2 separate regions of the Homo sapiens genome follow, and region 1 is linked to region 2. The links are contacts of gene promoters, found by promoter capture Hi-C in human tissues and cell types (Jung and others, 2019). All regions are on one chromosome and are shown on one strand. The core of a region is centred on a gene start or on the middle of the fragment in contact, and the rest is flanking DNA. Distances in the headings are between cores, read along the strand shown. Region 1 has its middle 31 kb from the start of TUBA1C. Region 2 holds the start of SPATS2 (spermatogenesis associated serine rich 2).

Evidence for each region. The method cuts DNA at HindIII sites, captures the fragments that hold promoters and counts their contacts. A contact is called where the count stands out against the background at its distance.
Region 1: a fragment that was not itself captured here is called in contact with the fragment with the promoter of SPATS2 in region 2 in 1 of the 25 tissues and cell types used here (hippocampus).

The regions. Positions count from the first base shown.
Region 1 is chr12:49,231,386-49,235,907 of GRCh38, forward strand. It overlaps a transcript of TUBA1C not described here. Among named protein-coding and RNA genes, the nearest start is that of TUBA1C, 31 kb to the right of the region's middle. RefSeq lists a silencer at 3,092-3,381. The HindIII fragment of the contact is 6,126 bases long and covers 1-4,522 here.
Region 2 is chr12:49,365,371-49,369,516 of GRCh38, forward strand. It overlaps SPATS2 (spermatogenesis associated serine rich 2), which reads left to right and starts at 2,092. Exons shown (of 14, transcript NM_023071.4): 1 at 2,092-2,217. RefSeq lists an enhancer at 1,172-1,431 and silencers at 1,722-2,201, 2,222-2,271, 2,302-2,371. The HindIII fragment of the contact is 7,261 bases long and covers 1-2,129 here.

The sequences.
Region 1 (4,522 bases), core at 1,548-4,047, 130 kb before region 2:
TCTCATACTCCTGGGCTCAAGCAATCCTCCCACCTCAGCCTCCCAAAGTGCTGGGATTACAGGTGTGAGCCAGCACTAATTTCTTTTTTAAGTATTCCGAGTGACCACTGCATGTGTAATACCTTGCTGGGCACTGTGCGAAATATAAAGGAAGTGCGAAACAGGGCTCTTGCCCTCAAAGTGCTTACAACTTTTAAATTTAATCTCCTTAACACTGGAGAGAACACGGCGTAGTATTGTGAACGTATGTGCCATGGCTATTTTTCTTTAAACTTCTGCTACTTAAAAAAAATAGATGATAGATAGATAGATAGACAGACAGACAGACAGACAGATAGATAGATAGATAGATGGAGTCTCGCTATGTTGACTAGGCTGGTCTCGAACTCCTGGCCTCAATTGATCCTCCCATCTCAGCCTCCTGAAGGGCTAGGATTACAGGCATGCACCACTGCGCCTGGCCTTCTGTTACTTTCAGAGGCATCCATAATTCTTGGACACCTGCTCATATGTTCTGTGTCTAGCTTCAGAATTATTGTAGAAGCTTGCCTGAACGTCACCTATAGAACCTGAGCCATTAGATCATCTATCCCTAAACGCTAATGCTGGGCTGATTTCCTGGCTGGGGGTGGCTCTCATTTCCTCCAGAGGGCCTGACAGAAGGAGGACAAGAGCTGATTGGGAGGAGCTGCCCTCAGGGCCACCCAACGCTTGCTTTCACAGTAACCTGCAGATAGTCCCTTGTTCTGGACACAACAGGAGTGGATATTTAGCAAGCAGATGAAATCCAAAGAGCAGAAACTGTCTGAAAGGGCCTGAGGATGCTGTGTGAAGGGAATGAAGCAACCTCATTTTTGCGGATAAATTCCCCGGAAATAAACCTATAGTATTTACAAAATGTCCACCTTGTCCTTCTCAGCACAGTAAGCTTTCTCTGACCCACAGAACCCATTTTCTGTTTGGATATGAACTCATTGCAGCCTGCCCAACATGAAATTCCAACTGGACATAAAAGGGCACTTCAGCTGTCAAGCCACGTGTGGATTTCGGTTTAAGAATCAGCCCAGGCAGCAGATGCTCCAAGTGCTTGGGGAGTGGCACGCCTATTCCTGATACAGAAGTCAGGCACCCTTTGTCTTGATCCCCCACTTAAATCAGGGATAGGCAATTCTGAATTTTTAAAAAGGCGCTATGTTAAATCCTTCTTATGAGAAAAAAATATCACTTATAATGTAGAAAGTTGAGGTTTCTCAGAGAGCTCTCCCTTTTACTGCTGAAGGGGCTTCTCAGCAGGCAAAGATATCTGCTCAGTAACTTATACTTCTGTGAAGAAGAGATTCCTAAGTGTAAGATGTATGACTTGTCGTTTTGGGGTTAAGTACAATCCCAAACACTCTGTCTCCACCACCTTTTTTCTGGAGGTGTTCTTTTTATTTTATTTTTTCAAAGTGGGGCACATTTCAGAAATTTTTGCTGGGAAACTCAGAATACAAACTTAACGGCATGTTAAAATTCTAAAAATAGTTTGACCCTGCATTTCACAGAGTTCAGGGCTTCAAAACTGTGCTGTCCAAACATGATTGGTGATTAATTGATTTTGACCCCCTGCAAGAAGTGAAAGCAGCTGGTTTACGAGACTTGAGAGACAGCCGATTTTCCAAGGGAGAACAAAGAAAAAGTGGCCACCCCTCCCCGCTGGGAGCGCGCTTTGCTTTGTCTGAGCGGACTCTCTCCAGGGACTGCCGCCGGGGAGGCTCAAAGCTGTGTCCTTGCGATTAGTTTGGTACACTTGGTTCAGCAGCCTGGGGAATGTGGGGAGATGTGTGCCTGCACAGTATCAACGTTATCAGCTGCCCTGTTCATGTCGCCTCTCCCTGAAGGACACTTTCATAACACAGTAACACTTAGGAGAAGGTTCCCCTCCTTTACTTCTGTTTCTCTGCTGATAAACAAATGTCAGGCATCTTCCTGGATCCGGGCCCTGATTCACTAAGTTACTGTATATCCATTGCCCTTTTTTGTCCTCCAAACACTGAGCTCTCAGTGCTCTTCTGGCTGGATCCAGATTGTGAAGATTACAGCCCCACTGGTTCCTTTCAGGACTTGGGGGCCCAACATTCCATCTCCAGGGCCTCAAGGAGCCTTCCATTCCTGATGGGTTCCCAATTACCGTGTTTCTGGTGCTACCAGACAAAAGAGAAGGCCCTGTTTTGACCCAGAGCCCTATAGCTGTGCCCTGATGGGAGATGGGAATTTTGATGTCTGACAACCTGATCAACAGCGTGACTCCTAGACCGAGTGAACCGTGGTCCGTCCACGAGCCTTCATCACTAGAGGAAAAACGGAGATGAATGATTATGACGCTTGAAGCAACGAACCTCTGCAAGTAGGAGGGTCCGGAAGGTTATTCCGGAATCACTGGGCAAGGTGAAGGGCAGGGCTGCGTAAGCGAAAGCGTCTGCTCAGTGCAGGGCAGCATAAACTCTGCAACATAAAAAGAGGGAAGCTGAGCTCTGGCATCATCTTGCGGGTTGCAGTTCCCGGCAACAGGGCTGGCTCCAGAGCAGAAGCGCAACCCGTCATCTTCCTGCGGGCCGCAGCCATAGGTGGAGAAAGGTGGTACCACAAGGCTCTCCCACTGGATGACGGTGACGCGCAATAAGCAGATGATTGCAGAGGCTCCTGTCAAATGGGTGCAGAGAAAAGGGAAGTGGGGAGAGGAGGAGGGACCTAGAAATGGCACTGCAACGATCCTGGAATAAAAACGAGGGGCCACAGTCAGAAATGACAAACGCCTCCACCTTGAAACGCAACCCCTAGCCCATTTATCCAATTTGCCTCTGATAACTGCTTTTAATATGTTGTAAATCCCATTAAAGCAGGAGAGAATAAATGAAAGCAGTCCCCTACCAGGTTCTAATTTTCATTCTCCTTTAGCATTGTCTTAAATAACAAGGACACCCTAAAAATCAAGTCCACCCTGTTTAGCTGTGGCAAGCGCTAAAAACCGTTAAGTTCGTTGAAACACTACTCTCCAAACCAGAGTAGGCTTCCAGGTTTCTCTGCAGAGCAGAAAGGAGGCTGTGGTTGTGTCCATGACTTTGCTTCCTTGGTTAGTACGGTGACGTGCAGCGCCAGGGCCTGGGCCTGGGCTCGGGCTCCCACCCGCGTGGCGCCGCAGTCCTGGCGAGCCCCGAGCGCTCTGTCCCCGGTGACCAGCAGGCGGCGCTATCTCCAGGCCGCAGCCGCCGCCCCGCCCGCCACGAAGGCCACTTCCGCCGCGGCCCGGCGAGCGCGCCCCCGCCACGCCCTGCTGTTTAGAAGCGGCCTTTCTTCACATATCGCTGTCCGCGAAAGTTTCTGAACTCTTGTGACAATTAATGCTGTTTGAAAACCTCCCTCTTGGGTCTTTTGGAAGAGTGGACATCCTAAAAAAAATTTTCTTTTTGGAGACGGAGTATTGCTTTTGTTGCCCAGGCTGGAGTGCACTGGCGCGATCTCGGCTCACTGCAACCTCCGCCTCCCAGATTCAAGCGATTCTCCTGCCTCAGACTCCCGAGTATTTGGGATTACAGGCACCCGCCACCACGCCCATCTGATTTTTGTATTTTTAGTAGAGACGGGGTTTCACCATGTTGGTCAGGCTGGTCTCGAATTCCTGTCCTCGTGATCCGCCCGCCTCGGCCTCCCAAAGTGCTGGGATTACAGGCGTGAGCGACTGCGCCCGGCCAAAAAAAAAAAAAAAATTAATTTGGGATTGCGTAATCAAAAAGTCTTTTAGACATCTCAAATGCATTGCAACTTATTCGAATAAAAAGGGCTCCTGACACGGACAAAAAGGCAGTATAGGTTGAAAATTAGAATGCTTAAAAAAAAAAAAAATTCCCCTTCCTGTTAGTTCCAGATTTTTCTGCAAGCTTGGAGGACAGCTCGCGAAAATTCAGCTGGGGCGCCATCTGCTGGACGCGCCGCGCCGCTGCAAGGCCCTTTCCGGAAAGGTGTCGGGGTTGCAGGTCAGCGCCCCATTTTTTGTCCAGGAGAGACTCGCTGGCACCTTGGCTGGACCAGGCTGGGCGCAGTGGCTCACACCTGTAATCCCAACACTTTGGGAGGCCGAGGCAGGTGGATCACCTGAGGTCAGGAGTTTGAGACCAGTCTGGCCAACATGGTGAAACCCCGTCTCTACTAAAAATACAAAGAGTAGCTGGGCCTGGTGGTGCGCGCCTGTAATTCCAGCTACTCGGGAGGCTGAGGCAGAATTGCTTGAACCTGGCAGGCGAAAGTTACAGTTCGCCTGGGAGGCGAAAGTTGCACTCCAGCCTGGGTGACAGGGTGAGACTCGGTCTCAAAAAAAAAAAAAAAAAAATCTTACATAGTTTTTAAAAAATAAAAAGAGACCAGGCTGACTCTCTGCAAGAAAGTGGCCTGTGTTGAGGAGCCCTCGGGCCTCAATGAGTCGTCATTTGTTACATTGCTGGTCTCTGAGGAAAACCTGAGGCTCAACTCATTTAATTTCCTCCAC
Region 2 (4,146 bases), core at 842-3,341:
GGGCTCAAGCAATCCTCCCACCTTGGCCTCTCAAAGTGTTGGGATTACAGGCATAAGCTGCTGCAACTGGCCTATTTAATAACTTTATCCTCCTTTGGAACTGGATACTCTCCTTGGGGTAATGATTTTTTTTATTCTTCTTTGTAAATGTTCGAATACCTAGAACAATACCCACCATCATTGAGTAGGTGCCAATTTAGTGAATGAAAAGAAAGCAGACATTTGGATAATTTGCTTCTATTTGAATTTTTGAATGAAGATTGAATAGTAAGGAACATATAGTCCAGTGCCGTACCTAGCTGGATGACTTCGTCTTCTGCTTATCTAGATCAGTAAATCATATGGTTGGAGTAGATGAGACATTACTAACCACAGGTCATTGGACTCCAGGCGATTTTTGAGCCCTTACCTCAAGCAACGTTAAAAACCACAAGGATCAGATGGCTTGGCAAAGCTCTACTATACTACTCAGTTACATGTACTGTGATTGCAATAACATACGTGGAAACCAAAATGACATGTGCCTGTGGTGTCTAGCTATACACTGACACACACTCTCCAGCTTGTTGGTGCCTTTTCAGAGCCCCTTTGCTTGGCCTCAAAAGGTAAGATGAGGACAAATTCTAATATATATATATATTTTTTGAGATGGAGGGTGGAGTGCAGTGGTGCAATCCCGGCTCACTGCAACCTCCGACTCCTGGGTTCAGGTTATTCTCCTGCCTCAGCCTCCCGAGTAGCTGAGATTACAGGCGTGTGCCACCACATCCGGCTAATTTTTGTATTTTTTGTAGAGACGGGGTTTCACTATGTTAGCCAGGCTGGTCTCGAACTCCTGACCTCAAGTCATCCGCCCGCCTCGGCCTCTCAGAAGTGCTGGGATTACAGACGTGAGCCACCGCGCCCGGCCCCAGATTCTAATAAATATTTTCAATGCTGACTGTCTAAATCCCTCTGGCCCCTCTTAATAGACCCCTGACCAGTCGACACTGAGGTAAGTGCTTTATGCATGCAGAAAGGGTGCACAAATACTAGTTAGTTCCAGCACCAGGGAGGTTGGGAGTCTGGCGTCGAAGAGAGTATTTAACAGAAAAGATTCGAAGGGCGGCGGGACCGACCACCGCCGCGTAGAGGGGCTATGCTGACAGCTGGGTAGATCAGAAACCCGACTGACGATCCCGAGGTCATTCTTCCCGCGCCCCCACCGGCCTCTGCGCTCTCTCAGGAGGCAGAGCGACCGCGCGGTCCGGAGGCCCCAGCGTTTCCCGTCGTTGGCGACTCTGAAATTGCCTTTTGGAACAAAACTTGGGTCGGGAAGGAGGCGAAGGGGAAAGCGGTGTGAAGTCCTCGGTACGGAAGAGTGAGCGGCGCTGTACCCGGCGGCCAGAGAAAAAGCTTCCCAACCCGGACATTGAGCAAAAGCCCCGCGCTCGACTCCCCTAGCGGCGCCCGCGTTCGGCCACCTCCGGGGGAGTTTCGGCTCTTTCCGTCAGTTCAGCTCGGGCCCTCCGTTCCCGGCGCGCGCCGGGTCCCTAACCGATGCCGCCGGGTACGAGCTGTGCTGCACGCGGACGCGAGCTCGCGTCCCACCCGTTTTCCCCTTCCATCTACTTTGTCCCCAACCCTCTCCCCGAGTCTCTTCCTTTCCCCGGTAATTCCCAGTCTCCGGTGGCGCGCGAGCCTGCGGACGGTGCGAGACGCGAGGGACCGGGCCCCGAGAAGAGCGGTAACCCGACTGGTCGGAGCCCGCCTCTCGCCGCCCCGCGCCTCTCCCCGATCTTCTCGGTCTCCGGTGCGCGGGCCGTCTCGCCGCTCGAGCCGCGCTCGCGCACCCGTTGGCTGCCACAGCCTCGAGCTTGGCGCGCCGGATTCGCGCCGGCGCGAGTACGCGCCCTGAGCTCTGGCTGGCTGGCTGGCGCGCACGCGCCCGAGAGGGCTCCGGGGCGGGGCGAGCCGCTGCCTGGGCGAGGGTCGGGGTGATCTGCTGGATCTCCGGCAGCATCCTGCAGTCCGGCCCAGGAGAGAAGTGGGGAGGCGGCGGTGGGGGCGGGGCGGCGTCCGGCTCTGAGAGAGCTGGGGGAGGAGCGCGGCGGCGACGGCGGCGGTGGCTCTAGAAGGGGAGGTGGAGGATCTCCTTTCCTCTTCTCAGACCCGGGAGCGTCCGGGACGCGGAGCCCGGAGCTGGGGCGACGAGGCGATTGCGGGGGCCTGGGCTAGGTGAGGCTAAGGGTGCTGGGTGGCGGGGTTGGCGGGGGCTCAGAGGGCGCCGAGGTGCGGGGAGCGGGTTGAGGGAGGAAAAAGAGGGAGGGGGTAGTTGGGGGCGGGGGGACGGGAAGGAGGGGGATGTGAGCCCTTAGAGGCCCGAAGTGCCCAGAGGGTGGAAGGTTCCTGGGGTCTGTGGGGCGGGTGAAACACCCGCGTCGGAGTTGGGGAGTTTCCAGACGGATAGGCCGGGGAAACAATGGAGTGTGGGGGGGACTCTGGCGTGAGCGTGTGTGGGGTATTGGATTTTAAGAAACAACGAGCGAGATAGAACGAAAGAATAGGATCATTTGGGATGAGAAGTACAATGAATTAGGAATGCAGTAGGGATGCGTAAGGTCACCTCCGTGGCTGTGCGAGGTCCTTAGCATTCGGGGGCAATAATGAGATTTGAAAATAAGGGAGAGAAGGGCGTTCTTGGAATTGAAGGGGGAGACGAAATGGAAAATCAGGCGAACAGACGCAGAGACATAAAATAGATGTGGTTAGGACTTGGATTAAAGCAGAAAGGTAGATTCAGTCAGTTTTGGACTACAGTGATATTTTTCTCATAATTCATCCAGAATGATTAGGTTCTTTTAGAAAGTGGATCTTTCTCAAGCTTGTCCCTCTGTTAAGGAGTACAAGCCGTTCTTTAAATAATTTGATTATCGCTTGTCCATTTTATTGATAAAACATGCCTGTGATATTTACTTCCCCTCTGTTTAGCAGGCTACTGTTCCTAATTTACCTACGGTTAATGAAGCAGGAGAGGACAGATCACCAAAAATATCTTGCTTTAAGTTAGGTCAGTGATAATGCAGATTTCAGTGTTTTGGAGAGAACCAAAAGCTTGGTTGTTTGTTTTCAGTTTGACCAAAAGGTGATGGATAAAATTAAGTTACCTGTACTTTGTTAGAATTGCAATTTCTCACTGAGAAATGTTCTTGTGCCATCTGCTACTGGTTTTGTGTTTGTGGGAGAGAGTTGGGGTTCTGCCTTAAATTATTTCTTGATGTTAACTTCAAATAGGCTGCCTCATACCTTCCAGTTTCAATTAAGGTGATTTGGGAATATTGATTATGATGTTTGCATTTCCTTAATATTTGGATTTCCAGACCAAATTTGTGATTGTACTAGATAGAAAATTGCCGATTTTGAAATTGTAATGACCATTGTGTGCTCCTAAGTAGTCCATGTTAAGCCTTTTATTTGTTGGGCATTAAGTTTTGCTGACTCATCTAAGATTTATGGACATTAATCAGTTTGTATTTCTCAGCTAGGTCTTGGATGGTAGCATTTAGGTTACTTTACAAAGGTCCAAAAATAATGATTTAAATTGTTACTTTTCTTAGATGTTATGAAAATTGAACAAAGCAAGAAATGAGTGCAGTGTTCTCATTAGTGACAATGTGCCTCTTTTTTTTTTTTTTTTTTTTTTTGAGATGGAGTCTTGCTCTGTTGCCCAGGCTAGAGTGCAGTGGCGTGATCTCGGCTCACTGCAACCTCCATCTCCCGGGTTCAAGCGACCCCAGCCTCCCAAGTAGCTGGAATTACAGGTGCCCGCCAGCACGCCTGGCTAATTTTTGTATTTTTAGTAGAGACGGGGGTTTCACCATCTTGGCCAGGCTGGTCTCGAACTCTTGACCTCTTGATCCATCTGACTTGGCCTCCCAAAGTGTTGGGATTACAGGCGTGAGCCACCGCAGCCTAATGTGCCTCTTTTTTAATTGACCTCTTTCAGTGGGCTAGCCAAGGTGCTAAGATTTTTTTGTATGTATTATCTCATTCAATCCTCACAATTATTTCATATTTTGTAAATTAAGAGGTTAAATAATTTACTAAGGTCACAGAGCTAGTAAATAACAAAGCTTTATTCAGACCTAGCTGTATCGGATGCCTTTT